Linked DNA regions of Homo sapiens: all the other regions are linked to region 1. The links are contacts of gene promoters, found by promoter capture Hi-C in blood cells and fetal thymus (Javierre and others, 2016). All regions are on one chromosome and are shown on one strand. Each heading gives the region's core, a stretch centred on a gene start or on the middle of the fragment in contact. The rest is flanking DNA. Distances are from core to core; before and after follow the strand shown. Region 1 holds the start of NUDCD2 (NudC domain containing 2). Region 2 overlaps DOCK2 (dedicator of cytokinesis 2). Region 3 holds the start of SPDL1 (spindle apparatus coiled-coil protein 1). Region 4 overlaps CLINT1 (clathrin interactor 1). Region 5 has its middle 32 kb from the start of PANK3. Region 6 has its middle 5.1 kb from the start of PANK3. Region 7 overlaps PANK3 (pantothenate kinase 3).

Region 1 (2,733 bases), core at 102-2,601:
TACATCAGAAATCCCAAATTCAGCAGCTACTGCTAAATTCCGAAAGTTACTGGATTTACTAATTTATAATCGTAATCTAAAACCATTGTTGAGGAAACTATGAATTGTACAATTCAGAAAAGTAACTGAGATCCAAGCTGACATAATGTCTTTCACACGAATCTTGAGGCACTCAAAGCACCTCCATATACTGTAATATATATAATAGCTAATAGCTAACATATAGTATGAACTTATTACATACCAGTGAATACTCCAAGCTCTTCATACACGTGAATACCATGTTAAGCTCAAAACAATCCCATGAGAAGGGTACTATAACTACCTTATCTTGTGGATAAGGAAGATATAGAGACACTGAACAATCTCTCGCCCAAGTTTACAAAACTAGGAAACAAGTAGTCTCCCTTCACCATATTACACTGCCATCAAACATCTTGGGCATCTAACCTGAGAACTAAATCTAATTTCAACCTGTTAGTTTAATTATACACTTAACAAAGAAAAAGCGGGTCCAGATCCAAAGAGCATTGGTGAAAAGAAATAAAAGGAGTACTACTTATTTTATGCACACACCTCTTCACCACCTGCTTGACCACTCCACAAACATGCAGGATTTTCAAGCTTTTAGATGAGAAAACTAATCACCTGACATCATCTCTAAATTCTCTGCCCGTTATTCTATCCCTATTTTCTTTGTTGTCCTTTCCTATATTTATCTATTTATGAATTACGCTTCCGTACAGGAGCTTAACCTCTCCACTGCAGGTACGTTATCTGTTGTCTTCCTGCCTGTCTTCAGTGCACGGAAGAAATATTTGTTCCTTTAGCAACCTAGTTAATCTGTTCCCAGCTGAAGCCCGTCAGAGAAGCAGAAGCAGCAGTCTTAGTTTGAAAACTAAACACGAAAATAGGCTCCTCAAATTTCCACAACTCAGCACCTGCCCTGAAGAGGCGGGGGCTCTGACCAGACCCAAACCTGGTCAGTGTTATCCTCTTTCTCTTTCTGCCAGCCACAGGAGCCGTCGGGACACCCAACAGTCGTTCAGGGAAACGGGGCTGGGGGCGTCTGGGAAGAGGAAACTGAACACAAGCCCCGAGCTGCCGCTACCTTGAGGATCTCGCGGCCGCCCACCGACAGCGCCACATGCCGGCTCTGGAGGCCGCACTGGATATCCTGGGCGCGCGTGCCTGGCGGCACCTGAACTTCAATGAACACCTCCTCCAAGGTCTGGTACCACTGGCCCCACGGGGTCCCGCACGGTACCACCCCACTCCGCTCCTCAAACGGGGCCGACATAATCCAGTCCCTCCCGGCCGCGGCCGCACCAGGCGGAGCCGAGCGCACGCGCGGAATCCCACGCTTAGGCTACGCCTCGGCCTCTCCGCTCGGGTCACTGCGCATGCGCAGGAACGCAAGCTAGCGCTTTGGTGTGCGTGTTCGTTTTTCCCTTTGAATGGCCGTTTACGGCACCGGCAGGCCCCGGATGAAAGAACTGAAATCCAGAAAAGTTCACATGCAACGAACAATGGGACAGAATTGGAACCAGTGAAGCCGGAACTCACTACACCGTCCCCTAAGTGACGCCAAAATGCACTTTCTAACGTCTCCGGAGGGAAGTGCGCTTGCGCAAATGCTAGGTTACACTTGAGTAACTCCGGGAATGACTGGGTGGGTGGGGCGGGGAACAGTAACGGTCTCCTATTGGATGGCAGCCTAAACTCGCAGGCCAGCTAATTGGACGCAATCAGAACCCAGCATTCTTTCTTCGTGTTCCTGTGCGGGATTGGTGTGCCCAGGGGTTTGGCTTTCCAATTGGCTAACGCCGGGGTGGGTGGGGAATGTGGGGAGATTTGAATTTGAAACCGGTAGGGAGTGATAATCCGCATTCAGTTGTCGAGGAGTGCCAGTCACCTTCAGTTTCTGGAGCTGGCCGTCAACATGTCCTTTCCTAAGGCGCCCTTGAAACGATTCAATGACCCTTCTGGTGCGTAAGGGGGAAAGAGCTGGGGGACGGGAGACGCCCTAACGCCCTTTGCCTCTTTCAGCTCCCTTCTTGGGAGGCAAGCAGGAGGCGATTTTAGGGTCGGGCTGGGGCTCATTCAGTTGATTGATTTTTCTCAAATATGCTCTAAGCATCTGTTACATGCCAAGCACTAATCAGGATGCTAAGGATACCGCAGTGAAACAGTCTCCGCCCCGTGGGGCTTACATTCAGGCGGGGAATACTGTCAATAAACAGCGGTAATGGAGAAACTACAGCAGGGCGAAGGGAATGGACCCGAGACGTTGGTAGCTACTTGATTTTCAAGTCCGAGAGGGCCTCACTGATAAGAACACTGGAGTATTACTTGTAGTCTGAACTTGTGCATTTCTTTTGTGTATTCCATTTGGGCATAAAAGAAGGAAGATTAGTAAAGGCAGTTTATGGGTGTAAAATTAGAGCAGCAGCACTTATTGAAAACATAAACAATGAAGTTATGGCTGATATTGACCACTTATACCTCAAGCACCGTACTAAGGCTTTACATCGATTATTAGTTATGTTAATTTCCCACCAACTCTAAGGGGTAATCCTATTATTATTTTATTGATAAAAAGACTGAGACTTAAATTTGCTCAGTGCTACATTACCAAAGTGACCGGACTGGAATATGAACCCAGCCCCCATCGTGTGCTCTTAACACCGCAATGCACAGCACAGTAACCAGGAAGCCTTAGCTGTGTTTGGT
Region 2 (2,733 bases), core at 1-2,500, 6.2 Mb after region 1:
AGAAGGAGGTAGAAAGAGAAACTAACAGTATCAGTTAGGGTTAAGTGTGACAAAGGGTGACAGAAAACCTCCAAAATTGTGGCCTAACCAAGCTGCAAGTTTATTTCTGTCTCTCATGGAAAGCTCAGAAATGGTCTGGGAAGAGGTGGTAAGGTGGCTCATTCTATATCTCACACTGTATCCTTGGCATGTGACTTCTGCCTCCTGAGCCACATAGGCTGCTTAAGCTTCGGTGATCAGGTCCACCTTCCAGCCAGCAAAAAGGATGCAGGGAAAAAGAAGGTCATGGCTTTTCCCTTTAAAGACATTTTCCTGAAGGCACACTTGACATTTCTTCTTACATTACATCCTATTGGCAAAAATGTAATCACATGACTGACTATAGCTGCAAGGGAAGCTAGGAAATGTAGTCTGTAATGTAGGCAGCCATGTACCCAGCTAAAAATTAGGAGTTCTCTTCATAAGTAAGGAGAGGAGGAAGAATATTGAGGATGATATATTAGTTTGCTCAGGCTGCTGTAGCAAAATACCACCAACTGGGTGGCTTAAACAACAGAAATGTATTTTCTCACAGTTCTCGAGGCTGGAAGTCTAAGATCAAAGCACCACCAGGGTTGGCTTGTCTCATGGCCTATCTCCATGGTTTGCAGATGGCTGTCTTGCTGCCTCTTCATTGCTTTCTGTGCAGGCACACCCTTGCTGTCTCTTCCTCCTGTCATGAGAACACCGGTCATATTGGATTAGCATCCCACCCTAAAGGACTCATTTTAACTTAATAATTCCTTTATCTCCGAATATGCACTTATCTCCAAATAGGAGTACCTTCTGAGACACTGATGACTGGGACTTCAGCATAAGAATTTTGGTGGGGACACAAATTCATGACAAATAATCTGTGGTCTCTGGCATGGTATTTTGGGACTATAAAGAGGGCTTCAAGGCAGGAGTCCTGAGATAAAGGGTGAGGGTAGAAAAGAGTTTTGTTTACCCTGAAGCTGAGCCTGCCAGGCAGATTTGTGTGGGACTCTAGTTATTCTTGTAGGGGAGGGAAAAGCTTCTTTCTGCTACTGCATCTTGGGTTTTCTGTAAATTAGACTAACAAAAGACTGATGAACAAGAGAAAACAAACAAGTTTATTAGCATGTACATCCTGCTTACATATGGAGTACTCAAAGGGTTGGTTTGAACTTGAGCTTATACAGCATCTTAGCAAAGGTACAATAAAGGTTTAGAGAAGTAGCAAGTCAAAGGAGGGTTTTAGGCCTCCAAGGGCAGCAAACTGTGGGAAGGGAAATATATGGGGAATCTAATGGAAGATAAAGGGTTATTTGTGCAGGTTCATCTTGGAGCCAACTTTCTGTCTTCTTCATTGCCATAAAACTTCCCTGGGAGAGGGGATTTATGACAGTCCTTATTTCTTAGGAGTTTCTTCAGATAAATATCCAGGAAAGCTTCTTGCTGTACCTGTTGATTCTTATTTGCATCCAGCTCAAAATAATCAATATGCCCTATGGAAGTGGCATATTTTGATCAGAAACCTGTTCTGTATGCAGCTTCTCTCTAGCTATGGTTTTACACCCATGTGTGGTGTTGAGGAATATTTGTTGGTTTCTTCTGAGGGCTGAGGGAAAATCTGTTCCAGGTGTCTCCCCCAGCTGCCAGTGGTTTGCTGGCAATCCTCGGCATTCCTTGGCTTACAAAAGCGTTGCCTTGATCGCTGCCTCCAACTTCACGTGGTATTCTCATTGTGTGCGTGTCTGTCTCCGCATTTCTCCTTTTAAAAAGGACATCCAGTCATATTAGATTAGGGCCCACCCTAGTGACTTCAGTTAAATGTGATTACCTCTGTAAAGACTGTCTCCAAATAAGATCACATTCTGAGGTACTGGGAGTTGAGACTCCAACGTCTCTTTTTTTGGAGGGGGAGGGCACAATTCAAACCATAACAGGCTCTGCAGAAGCAGAGAAGGGATCTTTTTCACAGCTTGGTTGGGGAATATGGAGGAATCCATAACCAGCTCGTGGTTCAGGGATGTGGGTGATGCTGTCGCAGCCCAGGACCCTGGACAGAGCTGATCCATGCACACTGACAGATTTGGCGTGGGCAATGTGTGCTGGTGTCATTTGCACATGGATTTTTGTTGAAGGGAACAAAATCTAGTCAAACCAGTTCAACGAAAATGTGTGTGGTGTGTATCTGTGGGAGAGCAGGGAGAAGTGGTGTATTTTAGGGTCAGAGGAATCACATGGAAATCCAGGAAACAGGAGGAGCCAGGCCTCGGAAAGGGCTTGAACTGAGGCAACCCTGGAAACCTCTGCCTCTCCTCTCATGGCTTCTCAGCTTCTCTGAGCATGCCAACTGTGGTCTCCTTTCTCTCCCCACCACCTCCCTCTGATTGCATTGTTCCTTCGTAACTGATACTCTAATACCACAGTGGTGGCCCCAGCATGCAACCCACCCATCTCTGCACAACCTTGCAGTTCAAGCATCCACTGAATCTTCTCTGTGTTTATTTGTTCAAAGTCCCAACAGAAGAGAGTGGTAGCTTGATTTCCCTTTGTAAGAAAGACAACCCAAGTCAGAGTTCATTGCCAGCCTAATAATGGGCCTCACTCTGGTGAGGGTGCTGCCCCTGGCAGGTCTAATTCTCTGTGACTATGAGGTGGGGTCACATGGCTTGCTACTCCTCTAGCAGGAGCCATGGGTGGGGACTGATTCTTTGAGTTGGAAGC
Region 3 (2,733 bases), core at 152-2,651, 6.1 Mb after region 1:
ATCTTTGTTCAGTGATAGGGAAAATGGTATTTGTTTCATTTCTCCAAGAACATAGGTGTGATTACAAATGAATGAGCATCTGGTTCATTGGAGTCCCAGATAAATCTGTGAGACAACACTGTGAGCAATTTGTTGCCAATCTTAAAGCTCAGATCAACCCTTTGAGTCTGGCTTAGCTCAGGCAGAAATTGTAGTCTGCAAAAGAAACTGAGAAGAAGAGGGCAAGGAGAGTGTGGCATCCCAAGACATAAAGACTCAAATCAATGAGAGCAAGCAACTCTGTCAAATTTCACCAGAAGTGAGGACTAAATATTGACTACCGAATTTTGCAAGGTAGGAATCACTGGTAAACCTAACAAGAGCCACTTCATAGTATTGGTTGGGACCAAATCCTGGTTAAAGTGGGAAAAACAAACAAAAGAACAAAAGGTAAGAAAATGGAGATAATGGATGTAAAGATTTTTTTTCCCCAGAAATTTTGTTATAAAGAGAAGAAAACAAATGGGGTGGTTGCCGATTGGTGTCAAGGAGGATTTTTTAAAAAATGAAATCATGAAATGATTTTATGGCAATCACTGCAGCATGTTTATGAACTGATAGGGAAGATCCAATAGAGAAGAAAAAACTGAAGATGCAAAAAAGAGCAGTTAGAGCCAAGTTCTCAAATAGGCAAGAAAAGATGGGCTCGAAAGAACGACATGATTCATGTAACAGTTACTAGGACTCATCAGTGCTCATTAAATGTTATCTATTATTATTTCTGATCGCTTCAATTTTTGAATAGGCATCAGGGTTACAAAATATTATTATTAAAAACACATGCAAACAGCTTGGACTCTAAGACTGCATTCAATTCTAGTTCTACCACTTGGACAAGGCACTTTTTTTCTTCGGGCTTTTTCTCTGTAGAAAACGAGGAGTAATATCTGCCTCATAAGGCTGCGGGCTTAACTGAGATAATCTGTAAACTTTAACACATGGTGGGAACTTAAATATTAACGCCAGTATTACCACTGGTAGGGTGCATGAGATCGCACGATGGTGCCAAAGGTGTCTCTCCACCGCCCAGCCCAGCGACACTGTTCCCCTAGAAGGCATTGTCGTAAAAACAAAAAAAAAAAAAAAACGAACAAACAAAACACCAAAACACGGAAACTAAAAGCAAATACTTAAAAGACATGCAGGAAACCAGCCCAAGGAAAAATTTATGTGGAGCCACGTCTGCGCCTGCGCCTGCGCCAAGCCCACGGCGCGCCACTTGCACATGCGCAGTAGCTGTAGGAGGGGGTGGGCGCTCCATTGGGCGTTTCTCTTGGTTTTTCCTTTCCGCGCGGCTTGGGCGGACGTCTCGTGAGACGTGGGACTTCTCGCGGGAACTGCATTCAAATATCCCAGGCGCTTACTCGAGAGCTAGCTGAGCGAATGGGCCGGCGACTGTGGAGTTAGCGTCCTCAATGTGGACGCCCTGAGCTCCCATTAGGAGCCGCTGGCTGCGGCAGCAGGGGACTAGCGTGAGAGGTAGGGGCAAGGGGCCTGGTGGGAGGTGGGTGTGGAGAGCGGCAGTGGGGAGAGTCGAACAGGCCCTAAAGAAAGCTAGGGGCCGGGGTCTCGGCCGAGGCCTTTAGCTGAAACATCTCCTTCCCCGGAACCCTGGGGTCTTATACACTGGGTTCCGAGCCGGTCTTATCTTCCGCTGGACCACCTCGCCGCCCTCAGGGATTCTGGACAAATATGGAACGTTGGGTCGGTTGCCGGGTCCTCAAAATTATAACCGCCACTGGATCTGCGCTGTGCGGTACGGTAGCCTCTAGCCCGAACTAAGAAATGGTGCAGATGGGAGATACATATTGGGTTTCAGAGATAGCGCATAAGGAGTAATATCTCATTAATAATTTTTATAATGATTACATGTTGAAATGATGTTTTGAGTGTATTTGTTTAAATATGTAAATTAATTTTTCATCTTTGTTTACTTTTTAAATCATGATGGCTCCTAGAACATTTAAAATCACGTACATGACTCGCGTTATATTTCTGCTGGACAGCACTGCCCCAGCCGTGTGTCAGATTCTACCCTAATTGCTTTTCATTCGTTATCTCATTTAATCCTTTCAGTAACCGATTAGGTGGGTGTTATTGTGCTTGTTTTTATAGATGATTAAACCAGAAATTAAATAACTTGTCCAAGTTCATGCAGCCAGTGAGTAGTGGAGGCGGGGTAAGAACTCAGGCAGTTTGATTCCCAGAGTTTCCTGTGTCCCAAATGCTTTGTGTGTGCTATATTTTTGAGAAGCAGGACAGGAAAAATGGTTGCAGCACCATGGTTTCTAGGTAGATTCTAGTTCCCATCACACTTCGCGTCTTAACTTGCGGGTAACCCTAAGCAAGTTACTTAAAACTTTCTATGCCTCAGCTTGCATGTGTAAAATGAGGGAAATACCTTCAACCTCTTGAAGTTGTTGAGAAGATTGAATAAGAATGTGTATAAAGCGGCCGGGTGCGGTGGCTCACGCCTGTAATCCCAGCTACTCGGGAGGCTGAGGCAGGAGAATGGCGTGAACCCGGGAAGCGGAGCTTGCAGTGAGCCGAGATTGCGCCACTGCAGTCCGCAGTCTGGCCTGGGCGACAGAGCGAGACTCCGTCTCAAAAAAAAAAAAAAGAATGTGTATAAAGCACCAAGCACAATGTCTGTCACACATTAGTAGTTTTTAATCAACCACGGCTATCTCTCTT
Region 4 (2,733 bases), core at 171-2,670, 5.6 Mb before region 1:
TCTACAGAGGATAATGGCTCCAAAATTTGTCTGCTATTGTAAAAACTAGTTCCAACTATTTTTCCTTGATGGAAATGCATTTCTCCAATAGCCATCAAAGGTGGAAAAAGTCTTACTCTAGCCAGGTCCCCTCATTTTACAGATAAGGAAGGCAAAGTCTGGAGATTCATGTGATTCTGCCTCAAATCATACATACAGCTAATTAAAAACGTAATGCCAGAATATGAACCAGATAGTTAAACCCCTAACCTTTCTCTCATAGAAGCCCTCATTCTATTGATCCATCTATCTGAATAGCCCTTAATCACGTCACTGCTTCTTCATTTGCAAGTTCCTTCATCATTTTATACCTCTGATAATCAGACCAACCATTCTATGGATGCACGTCTATTATGGCATTATAAGGTGCACAGTCTAACAGATCCACGGTTCTGTAAGATGCTTACATTTGGGGGGAAGAATTTCTTCTCTTCTTGCCAGTGAAAAGATGAAAATTAAAATCCCGAGTACTCATCAGTAAATCAACCTCATGTTCTAATCTTAATATGTGTCAGACACCCACAAAAGCCTTAAAAAGTCTTTGGTGACAACATTCTTCTATGTTCTTGAATAATTTGGTTCAAGTCTACATCCTAAATTGGGTAGTAAAAAGATAGATAATATTTTTCAACAATAGCTTTTCCTTTAGATAACTACTTACATGGCAAATTTAACCTAAAGCACGTGAAGATTAGTAACAAGTGTGATAAGCAAATATGAAAGGTACAACAATAGTAGGAATATTGCCTCGATTTCTGTCTTACGAACAATGTACAGCCTCTTCAAATTTTTGAGTACCACAAATTTGGTCCTCTAAGAGAACAAGGTGTTTCTTAATGGTTTTATTCTTCTGACCTCTGACTGAGAAATAAGGAGGCAGTGCCAGGCACGGTGATGCATGCCTGTAGTCCTGGCCACTTGGGAGGCTGAGGTGGGAGGATCACTTGAGCCCAGGAGTTGGAGGGTGCAGTGAGTTATGAACACACAAAAGAATGAGACCCCATCAAAAAAAAAAAAAAAAAAGGTAGCTTTTAGTCTTCTTTTGGCCTTTAAAAAACTATTTAAGTTGATATCCTAATCTTTACACAATATACTAAAAAAATGCCAATGAACCTAGATCTGGAAAAGATCTAGTTTATTTCATCTTCGGTAAGCAAAAGCAAAGAATATATAAATAGCTAAATAGTCCGAAATAAATAGCTGAAGCCTTAATAGCCAAATGAGTTGTTATAAAGGAAAATTATTAAAGCAAATCACTTTTCAAACTTGAAGCTTCTTTCTTAAAGAGGTTTATTTCACTCTAAATGCAAAACATTTGCTAGTTTCAAAAGTACACTAATATAAACATATTCTGTTAAGGGCTTTATATGCAATACAATCCCTTAACCCTTAAGCCTCACAACAACATTCTAAGGTAGGTATCGTTGCATTTTCATTTTGTACCAGAGAAAACTAGGGCACTGTGAGGATAAGTAACTTCCCCAAGGTTATAAAGCTTGAACCCAGCTTTGCAGGTTCTGAAACCTGTGCTCCTTAGGCACTCTATTGCCTTCTTGGTAGCACAGAAAATATAAAAATATGGTCAAGCTCTAAGTTCTATCTGATGTATCAGACAAGGCACTGGAAATTACTTTGTTTCCTGGTGTCAAGAAAACAGTTTGCTATCTATACTTCCTGATTTTAGGTTAGGTGGGTGGCACAAATCAACTGTTTTTCTCACCACACTTATTGCATAATCATTAAAGCCCCAAAGGAAGAGGACTGCTTAAATTCTTAAACTTTATTTCCTGCTGGCCTAGAAGACCTTACTTAACCACTGTTATACCTGATATACTCATTTTAAAAGTTAAGGTTTTCCTTGTGCAAGTAAGAGACTAAAGTTATTTCAGTCTTAAAGGAAATCAACTACGTACTGGTCGTTTTACCTGCTTTTAAAAGCAGATCAACAGGATATAAACCTGGGTTGTTTTTTTCCTTAAGAGGACATTTCTTAATGACCTCTTAATTTAATCGAATGGAACAAGTAGCACACCAAAAATGATGTGTAGTGGAAAAAGAAACAGAAGAAAAAATCGCAAGAAGTCATATAGTGATCTACTTTCACTAGTGTTAGAAAAGCAAAGGATGAGTGTCTTCTTGAGTAACTTCAGGCTGACCACAATAGCCACTTGTTACACTACTACCACCCACTCCAACACTTCAGGTTCATTAGGAATTAAGAGGAGGCAAGGAAGATAAAAGACACACCCCAACCAGGTCTAAGGTCTCTCCGTACTACACCTTGAGGGACACAGGGAACCAGTGCATTGTGCCCCCCACCCCCAAACCTTCCCTGCTCCCCAGGAGGCAAAGCCCACGGCCTGGGGCCAAGACAGTCCTCCGGCCAGGGCAGTGACCCAGCGCCAAACAACCCGCCCCTTATGACCAAAGCGTCGGCACCCAGGGGTTGGAATAGGGGAAGGGACGGGAAGGCCTGGAAAGGAGAGAAGGGTGGCCAAGAGGATGTTTTTTTTTAAAACGAGGGAGGGTCCCTCCCCAGCCTCGCCAGCGGGGATGAGGCCCGGGGCCGGGAAGGAGCGGGCCGCCGCCATGATGGGGCTGGCAGAGCCAGGGGGCGTGACGTGGGCAACCCCTAGCCCAAGGCCAGCTCCTTCTCCCCCTCCCCCCTCCCCCACGTGGGCCTCGGCCACAACT
Region 5 (2,733 bases), core at 100-2,599, 5.2 Mb after region 1:
ATCTACCAAGAAAGAGTCTTACATCTGTATTGCAGAATTTTGGTGAGTAAAACATCTAGCCCAGGTTATAGCTCACAGTTGGCACTCAATTAATGCCAATTATCTTTCTTCTTCTCATTTTACAACTACATATTTAGCCCACGCCTCTATTTACTCACATGTGGCTTGAGGCCAAAGCTGTCAATTAGCCTTTTAAGTTTCTCAAGGATAGGAAGGTAGGGCACAGAATGAATGAGAGCATTCATTAAATGCTCACTTTAGAAGGCACAATCCTCCTGCATTCCAAGAAGCTATGTATTAATTGGAACAGAAATATGCAGGATGAAATAAACAGACAAGAGGCTTGGAGCTGCCATCTTAACAGCAGGAGATGTAACCAATCCTTAGGAATGTCTGCTTCTCCTAATCCTTAATTTTGACGATGATGAAAGGAGGGAAGATGACGGCAGCTAGTACTCATTGAGCACTTATTCTTTTCTAGGCAAGGGGCTACCACTTGACATGCCATATTTCTTTTAATCTTCTTAATAACCCAGTGAGGGAGATATAATCATCCCTATTTTACAGATAAGGAAAGTGAGTCACAGAGAAGGAAACTTCTGAAGTCACTAGCTAGTAAGAGGCATGCTGGGATTAGGATGGAAGTTGGCCTGAGTACAGAGCCCCAGATCATAAGCAGCACCCCACTATATCACATGCACTTTCCTAGAGTCAAAAAGCCAAGGAAAGGCCCTGTGAGAGGGCTTCTTAGAGAAATATGGAATCTGTTACCACTTTTATAAAAAGGTGTTTACCTATCAGCTATAAATCTCCCCTAAAGGGAATAATTTTTGAAAATCTTTCATACTGTTCCTGAGAGGTTTTTCTTTTTCTTTCTTTTTTTTTTTTTTTTTGACAAAGTCTCGTTCTATTGCCCAGCAATTCTCCTGCCTCAGCCTCCTGAGTAGCTGGAATTACAGGTGCCCGCCACCATGCCTGGCTAATTTTTGTATTTTTAGTAGAGATGGGGTTTCACCATGTTGGCCAGGCTGGTCTTGAATTCCTGACCTCAAGTGATCCGCCTGCCTCAGCTTCCCAAAGTGCTGGGATTACAGGTCCTAAGAGTTTTTTTAATGAGTGAGAAAATATTTATTTTGTATGGTTAATAAACTAGACACCTACAGTGGCTTCTTAGTCATATTGAGATATTACTATCTCAGTGGTGAGAAGAAAAAAAATCACTTAGAAAAAGAAAAAGCTTAGGAGTGTCATCTCTGGTTATTAGGAAGGATTGTTTTTCTATTTTACGTTTTCTAAAAATTCTGTGGTTTTTGTTTCTGATGTCGGTAATCAGGAAGCAAAAAGTTAAAGACAATTGGGATAAAGGATCTTCTGCGTTGTGAGCAATTCGAGATCTACAGCTGTATGGAGAATAAAAACTTATAGAACCGAATGATGCAGACTCTGGGGCCCAAGAACCTTAGAAGCTTTTCTTGTCTGTTAAGATAGGCTAAAGCCATGAACAAGTGTGCCTTAGAAAAGAAATTTTCACTAGGACATTCACAGCATTCCTGATGACTGACATCGCTTCAAGTTCAGTGAATTATTCTAACAGGCATAGCATAAGTACAAAGTGACCCAGTTGTGAATATTCAGGGCTGGGACGCCACGAGAGGAAATTGACGTTGGGGACAATCTGTGGGAGCAACATATTCTCCTATAGATGAAATGCCAGGGAGAATGGTGGGCTGCTTCTCACCAGCTAGTTTTCTGTATGTCCCCAGAATGTCTAATGTTTTCTCACAGTAGAGCTCTTAAAGAAAAGCTCTGTTACCTTTTATTGAAAATTCTGGACTCAAATGCTATAATTAAAAGAAAAAAATTAATATGCCCTATACTGACCTTTGAAATACTTGGATATAGAAGGGAATAGGGCAAGATCTCAGCTGTCATAAAGTTCATATTCTAGGTATACATCATTTTTGTTAAGTCACTAGAGATTGCATTACACGAACTAGATAAATATTCCCTTTATTCAGTCAATAAGTGTGTTATGACACTTTTTTGCAGTGGTGTGATCATAGCTCACCACAGCCTTGAACTTCTGGGCTCAAGTGATCCTCTAGCCTCAGCCTCCTGAGTTGTTAGGATTACAGGTGTGAACGACCGCACTTGGCCCTCTTTTTTCTTTTGTAATTAGCTTTTCTTTCTCGTTAACGAGGTGCTTCGATTTTTGGCATTTGCTCAGTTTTCAAGGTACTTACTGCTTTTTGTTCCCAGTGTTTCCACAGATTTGTCAAATGCCTATCAAGAAGATTTATAAATGTTCGAAGACATCAGATTATCAATTCCATGCTTCCCCCTCTCTCCACACCCCCCAAGAGACCTCTCTTCTGCTTCCCTACATCTTCTTTCTCGAATCTAGCCAGCTGATACCTGCCACATGTGTGGGTTAGCCCTCTATTTTCTCTTCCACTGTGTTACTGCATTCCTTATACATTCTTCATGCTTCCATAAGAAAGATTGCTTGAGAGATCTTGCATAACTAAGTAGGTGGCTGGACTTCCCTCACACTTGATTGATAGCTGGGCTTTGCAGAGAGGTCGTGATTGAAAATAATTTTTCATAAGAATTTTCAAGCCTGTTGAAAAATCGGTTGCAATTATGGCTCCCTTTCCTTTATATGTGAGTTTTTTTTTTTTCGCTCTCTGGGTTCTTTTAGGATTGTTTCTTTATCCAGTAAAGAGATATTTC
Region 6 (2,733 bases), core at 162-2,661, 5.1 Mb after region 1:
CTCAGCCTCCCAAGTAGCTGGGATTACCAGCGTGTGCCACCACGCCTGGCTAATTTTTGTATTTTTAGCAGAGATGGGGTTTTGCCATGTTGACCAGGCTGGTCTCGAACTCCTGACCTCAAGTGATCCACCTGCCGTGGCCTTGGATTGTTATTCTTATTGTAAAGTAAAGGAAGAAAGCTTTTGTATTTAGACATTTTGCCTAAGGTCATTATTTGGGATCAGACCATAGGTCTAATTAGGTAAAAGATAAGGAACCACATGGCACCAATCAGACCAGATTTTGATTCTAGATTTTATGTTTGATTTACTATTTTGATTCCAGATTTTATGTTTGTTGTTTAGAAAATTTTTTTTTAGGGACGAGGTCTCACTCTGTCACCTGAGCTGAAGTGTAGTGGCGAGATCTCACTCTGTCACCCAAACTGAAGTGTAGTGGCATGATCATTGCTCACTGCAGTCTCCAACTCCTGGGCTCAAGGGATCCTCCTGCCTCAGCCTCCCGAGTAGCTGGGACCATAGGCATGGACCAAAACACCCGGCTAATTTTTTTATTTTTTAATTTTTTGTAGAGATGGGTTCTCACTTTGTTGCCCAGGCTGGTCTCAAACTCTTGGCTTCAAGCCATCCTCCCACCTTCACCTCCCAAAGTGTTGGGGTTACAGGCATGAGCCACCTTGCCTGGCCTTTATTTGTTTTGTTTTGTTTTGTTTTTTATAGAAACATCTTTCTGAGCTACCAGGAATATGACTTGGCAAGTTAGAATCCTGAATGGTAGACTTAACCTGCACTTCCTCTTTTATTTCCTGTTATTACTCTATCCCACACAGAACCTTAGATATTCTAGAATGGTCCTGTTTTCCACAGTTTTATTGGATGAGAGTCGTGATTTCTGATCTGACATGGCTTCAAAGAATACTCACTATCTAATATGATTTACCTGCTGCTTTTATAAATCTTATGGGCACACCAAGTTCTCTGACAACATATATCTTTTGGTTGTTTCTGGTTCTCTTTGACAGTATCAGCTTGGAAGTCAAAGGGGAATTGATACGTATGTCTTGTGATAGTCTGGCCATGGTCTGAAAGGAAGAAGAGCTAGAAATTAGAAGCCACAGAAATTTGGGTAAGTTTTGGGCACAGGCTCTTGCTAGTTTCTGTGGCCATAGAGATGAGTGTACACATGGATGACTTAGCTTAAAAGTTAGGCTATACACCTGTGATATTACTAGAGTTAACCATCTATTTGCTGTTTGTTCAAAGATGAGACTACTCTTTGGTCTGTTATGCCAGAAAATCACTGAACTTTGAATAGTGAGAATTCCTGTCTCAGATCAGCCATACAATTGCTGTGTGACCCTGGGAAAGTCCTTTTTCTCTCTGGGCTTCAAATTACCCATCTGCAAAATGAGATGACTGTTGGAGATTTTTTTTTTCTCTTTTTGAGACGGAGTCTCGCTGTGTCGCCCAGGCTGGAGTGCAGTGGCATGATCTGTGCTCACTGCAAGCTCCGCCTCTCGGGTTCACGCCATTCTCCTACCTCAGCCTCCCCAGTAGCTGGGACTACAGGCACCCACCACCATGCCTGGCTAATTTTTTGTATTCTTAGTAGAGGTGGGGTTTCACCGTGTTAGCCAGGCTGGTCTCGATCTCCTGACCTTGTGATCCGCCCGCCTCAGCCTCCCAAAGTGCTGGGATTACTGGGATTACTGGCGTAAGCCACTGTGCCCGGCCTAATATCTGCCTCCCAGGTTCAAGCGATTCTCCTGCTGCAGCCTCCTGCGTAGCTGGGACTGCAGTTGCCTGCCACCACGCCTCCCTAATTTTTGTATTTTTAGTAGCGACGGGGTTTCACCTTGCTGGCCAGGCTGGTCTCAAACTCCTAACCTCAGGTGATCTGCCTGCCTTGGCTTCCCAAAGTGCTGGGATTACAGGCATGAGCCACTGTGCCTGGTTTTTTTATTTTTATTTTTTTGAGACAGAGTTTTGCTCACCCTGGCATGAGCCATGGTGCCCAGCCCAGAGATTTCTTTCATCTCTACTTTTTGAATTTCACTAAGAACCTGTTCCCTTTTCAGGACCAATGTGAAGTGTGTTCAGTTCACTAAGAACCTGTTCCCTTTTCAGGACCAATGTGAAATGTGTTCAGCCATGTGTTTCCTAAAGTTTTCACCAGTGTGATTGAAACTGACAGGTCATCCTGTTTTAGTTTGTGGCCACTCTTCCTTCTGCAGCCTGCGTTGGCTTTCAGCCCCAGTCCCTCCTCCTAGCACCATCTGGTTAATTGCATTTTCTCTCTTTTCTAGCATGTCCTCAAAACCCATTCCTGGCAGAGTGAATGCAGGAGCTGGGAAAAGCATCTAAAGGGGCCAAGAGACTGTCTTCTTGTCTCAATATTTATTGTCTATGAAACACAATAAATCCAGCCCATCATGCAAAATGATAGAGGAGACCTGACACATCTTCATTTTGCCTTTACTGAGCGGGTATCCACAGAGACAGGTGGTGAGTTGTACCTAATGATGACTATAGGTCTCCTGGTATGAATAAACACACACACACACATGCGCACACACGCACACATGCACACATGCACACACACACACATACACTCACACCCTACACACCCTTCAAAGCCCAGATGAAGCTTTTAACAGCGGATTCTGTCTCTAATTAAATGGTCAAGAACATACTTCAGTCAGTCATTGGATCCACAAACTCAAATAAGCTAGG
Region 7 (2,733 bases), core at 115-2,614, 5.1 Mb after region 1:
ATCTCGGCTCACTGCAACCTCCACCTCGTGGGTTCAAGCGATTCTCCGCCTCAGCCTCTCAAGTAGCTGGGATTGCAGGCGCCCGCCACCACGCCTGGCTAATTTTTGTATTTTTAGTAGAGATGAGGTTTCACCATCATTGGTCAGGCTGGTCTCCAGCTCCTAACCTCAAGTGATCCGCCCACCTTGGCTTCCCAAAGTGCTGGAATTACAGGCGTGAGCCACTGTGCCCAACCCACGTAGTTTTAAATATATACTAAATTTGCTAGGAATTGAACCACCACATAAAGCAAGGGAAAATTGTACTTCTTACTGTTTGGAATTTTACCAAGTGTTTGTTTAGCATGTTGGAGGGTCATGTCACCAACAGCAATGCCATTTATGGTATCTTATTTTCCAACAGAACATACCATATCAATCTGGCATGTGTAGCTTTGGTATTCATGATCAATCTATGCATAGGTGCAAGCATATAACTACTTCATGATGTCCTCTGGAATGATCATACTGTTTGTTAATCTACCCACGGATAGATTAATTTCTGATTAATAACTGATACCTTAATCTCCTGTCTTTATATTATAGTTTGAGTACTAGTTTGAAATGATTACATTCATCATTTCAGGTTAGTAAAAAGCGTATTATAAGACACCGTTTATAAAACATTGCAGCTTAGATATCACTTCCTCTGGGAACCTCTTCAACTCTCTAGCTGTTGTTACTCCTCTGTGTTCCCAAGGCACCTCTTTTCATACAGTACTACAGATCTTTACCTCAAATTATATGGGTCTCGCTTCTATGAGCCATTTAAGTTATTTATATTCCTTCTGAGACAGGGTCTCACTGTCACCCATGCTGGAGTGCAATGGCTCAATCACAGCTCACTGCAGCCTCAATCTCAAGAGCTCAAGCAATCCTCCCACTTCATCAGCCTCTTGAGTGGCTGGGACTACAAGCACAGGCCACTATGCTGAGCTAATTTTTTTATTTTTTGTAGAGACGGGGTCCCACTATATTGCCCAGGCTGGTCTCCAACTCCTAGCCTCAAGTGATCCTCCCACGTCAGCCTTTATATTCCATTAACAGTATTTTCTTATGATTTTCAGAAATTAAATTATTCACATTTACATTTTCAAGAAAAACAAATTTCAGTGGTCCTAAACAGAGCCATTCTTTATTCTAATAGAAAAGACTAGAAGCTTGGCAAACCACTCTTTGAACTCTCATTCTAATGGAAAAGACTAGAAGATGGCAAACTGCTAACAGCACATAACTCAAACCAATACTCATAGTTCTCCTGCCAGATCCATTCAAATCACCCCATTTGACACAGGAACATGGCAGGATTAACAGCATAAAAACAGAAAAAAAAGGGTAACAGATTTTCATTCAGGTGTCCATTATACTAACCAAAAGACATTGGTTTCCAGACTTAGGGTTTGGGAAGGAGATGGCCCTGGAAGATTAATATTATTTGAATAAGTAATATTCCAAAAACCATGTAAATGTAGGACAATAGTGAAAATAATTCAAGCTTCATTTATATCTGGCTTTGTACACTGCCAAATTCATTAAAGTCCCCAAATCCCCTTTTTATTGTAGCTTTGTAGTACAGCCCTAAACAAGTTTTACCAAATATTATGTGCAACAACATGACCAAATCCGGGCAATTTTTACTCATCTCATAAACGTGTTTAAAACGCCCCAAGTGAAAGGCAACCATGGATACATATTTCCCACTGCATGTGCAGGGAGAATTAAGGAACATGCTAGATGGAAACCTACTCTCATATTTAAAAACAGGTATCAATTTTCAGTTTTGAGTAAAAGATACCTACTGTGCGAAAATCTTTTTCAAACTTGTAAGCACCACCTCCTGTAGCACATAGCACCGTCTGCAATGTTGAGAAGTTTTTATCTCTTCCCATTTGGATAAAAGTAGGCAGGTCCTGGGTTGGAAACCTGATAAAGTGCAAGTTCCCTCTTCGGCCAAAAAGTGTTAAATCTTTCAGTTCAAGGTGTACATCCCGAATGCCGGTGGATCCATATGCCACGTTAGAAGTCAAATATTTCCGAATACTTTTTAAACTCTCAACTTCTTCTTGCTCTTCCTCTGCTGTGATATCAATAGGTTCAAAGTACGAGAGCTTTACTAGAGTTCCCCCAATGTCCATGCCAAACCATGGGAAAGCTATGGGAGGAAAAAAAAAAAAAAAAAAAAAAATATATATATATATATATATCCATTTTAGAAACACAAATTAAAAACCAGTTAGCCACAAACTTCATTTACTCTGAATCATGCATTCAGGCAATAATATGTATTGGGTAAGACACATGTTCCATGTGGAACTTACCTTTTTCCCTTCAAAGTTTTTTTTTTTTTTTTTTTTTTGAGATGGAGTCTCGCTCTGTTGCCCAGGCTGGAGTGCAGTGGCGCGATCTTGGCTCACTGCAAACTCCGCCTCCCGGGTTCACGCCATTCTCCTGCCTCAGCCTCCCGAGTAGCTGGGACTACAGGTGCCCACCACCACGCCTGCCTAATTTTTTTTTTTTTTGTATTTTTAGTAGAGACGGGGTTTCACCGTGTTAGCCAGGATGGTCTCGATCTCCTGACCTTGTGATCCGCCTGCCTCTGCCTCCCAAAGTGCTGGGATTGCAGGCGTGAGCCACCGCGCTCGGCCCTTCAAAGTTTTATTAATATATTTTCTAAAAACGTATAGGGTGCTTAGA

The links. The method cuts DNA at HindIII sites, captures the fragments that hold promoters and counts their contacts. A CHiCAGO score of 5 or more calls a contact.
Region 2: a fragment that was not itself captured here is called in contact with the fragment with the promoter of NUDCD2 in region 1 in 2 of 17 cell types (non-activated CD4 T cells and naive CD4 T cells); the score reaches 6.7 in non-activated CD4 T cells.
Region 3: a contact is called between the fragment with the promoter of SPDL1 here and the fragment with the promoter of NUDCD2 in region 1, in 2 of 17 cell types (total B cells and total CD8 T cells). The highest score is 8.6, in total B cells.
Region 4: a contact is called between a fragment that was not itself captured here and the fragment with the promoter of NUDCD2 in region 1, in 3 of 17 cell types (total CD8 T cells, activated CD4 T cells and naive CD4 T cells). The highest score is 9.3, in total CD8 T cells.
Region 5: a fragment that was not itself captured here is called in contact with the fragment with the promoter of NUDCD2 in region 1 in 1 of 17 cell types (naive CD8 T cells); the score reaches 9.9 in naive CD8 T cells.
Region 6: a fragment that was not itself captured here is called in contact with the fragment with the promoter of NUDCD2 in region 1 in 4 of 17 cell types (naive CD8 T cells, total CD4 T cells, activated CD4 T cells and 1 more); the score reaches 13.2 in naive CD8 T cells.
Region 7: a fragment that was not itself captured here is called in contact with the fragment with the promoter of NUDCD2 in region 1 in 1 of 17 cell types (total CD8 T cells); the score reaches 7.0 in total CD8 T cells.

The regions. Positions count from the first base shown.
Region 1 is chr5:163,458,751-163,461,483 of GRCh38, forward strand. It overlaps NUDCD2 (NudC domain containing 2), which reads right to left and starts at 1,352. Exons shown (of 4, transcript NM_145266.6): 1 at 1,112-1,352. The coding sequence starts at 1,300. HMMR (hyaluronan mediated motility receptor) reads left to right here and starts at 1,882. Exons shown (of 18, transcript NM_001142556.2): 1 at 1,882-1,988. The coding sequence starts at 1,943. RefSeq lists enhancers at 1,069-1,318, 2,069-2,128 and a silencer at 1,649-1,738. The HindIII fragment of the contact is 3,644 bases long and covers 623-2,733 here.
Region 2 is chr5:169,639,352-169,642,084 of GRCh38, forward strand. All of the region lies in intron 1 of DOCK2 (dedicator of cytokinesis 2), which reads left to right. Among named protein-coding and RNA genes, the nearest start is that of DOCK2, 3.4 kb to the left of the region's middle. The HindIII fragment of the contact is 397 bases long and covers 1,053-1,449 here.
Region 3 is chr5:169,582,372-169,585,104 of GRCh38, forward strand. SPDL1 (spindle apparatus coiled-coil protein 1) reads left to right here and starts at 1,402. Exons shown (of 12, transcript NM_017785.5): 1 at 1,402-1,518. LOC105377714 (a long non-coding RNA gene) reads right to left here and starts at 1,290. Exons shown (of 3, transcript XR_941200.3): 1 at 1,012-1,290. RefSeq lists an enhancer at 1,029-2,029. The HindIII fragment of the contact is 7,098 bases long and covers 1-2,733 here.
Region 4 is chr5:157,856,181-157,858,913 of GRCh38, forward strand. The region is part of intron 1 of CLINT1 (clathrin interactor 1); the gene reads right to left. Among named protein-coding and RNA genes, the nearest start is that of CLINT1, 1.6 kb to the right of the region's middle. RefSeq lists an enhancer at 2,595-2,733. The HindIII fragment of the contact is 223 bases long and covers 1,310-1,532 here.
Region 5 is chr5:168,609,809-168,612,541 of GRCh38, forward strand. No RefSeq gene overlaps it. Among named protein-coding and RNA genes, the nearest start is that of PANK3, 32 kb to the left of the region's middle. The HindIII fragment of the contact is 229 bases long and covers 1,236-1,464 here.
Region 6 is chr5:168,583,113-168,585,845 of GRCh38, forward strand. No RefSeq gene overlaps it. Among named protein-coding and RNA genes, the nearest start is that of PANK3, 5.1 kb to the left of the region's middle. RefSeq lists a silencer at 730-779. The HindIII fragment of the contact is 2,467 bases long and covers 179-2,645 here.
Region 7 is chr5:168,566,808-168,569,540 of GRCh38, forward strand. It overlaps PANK3 (pantothenate kinase 3), which reads right to left. Exons shown (of 7, transcript NM_024594.4): 2 at 1,839-2,191. Among named protein-coding and RNA genes, the nearest start is that of MIR103A1, 7.2 kb to the left of the region's middle. The HindIII fragment of the contact is 335 bases long and covers 1,198-1,532 here.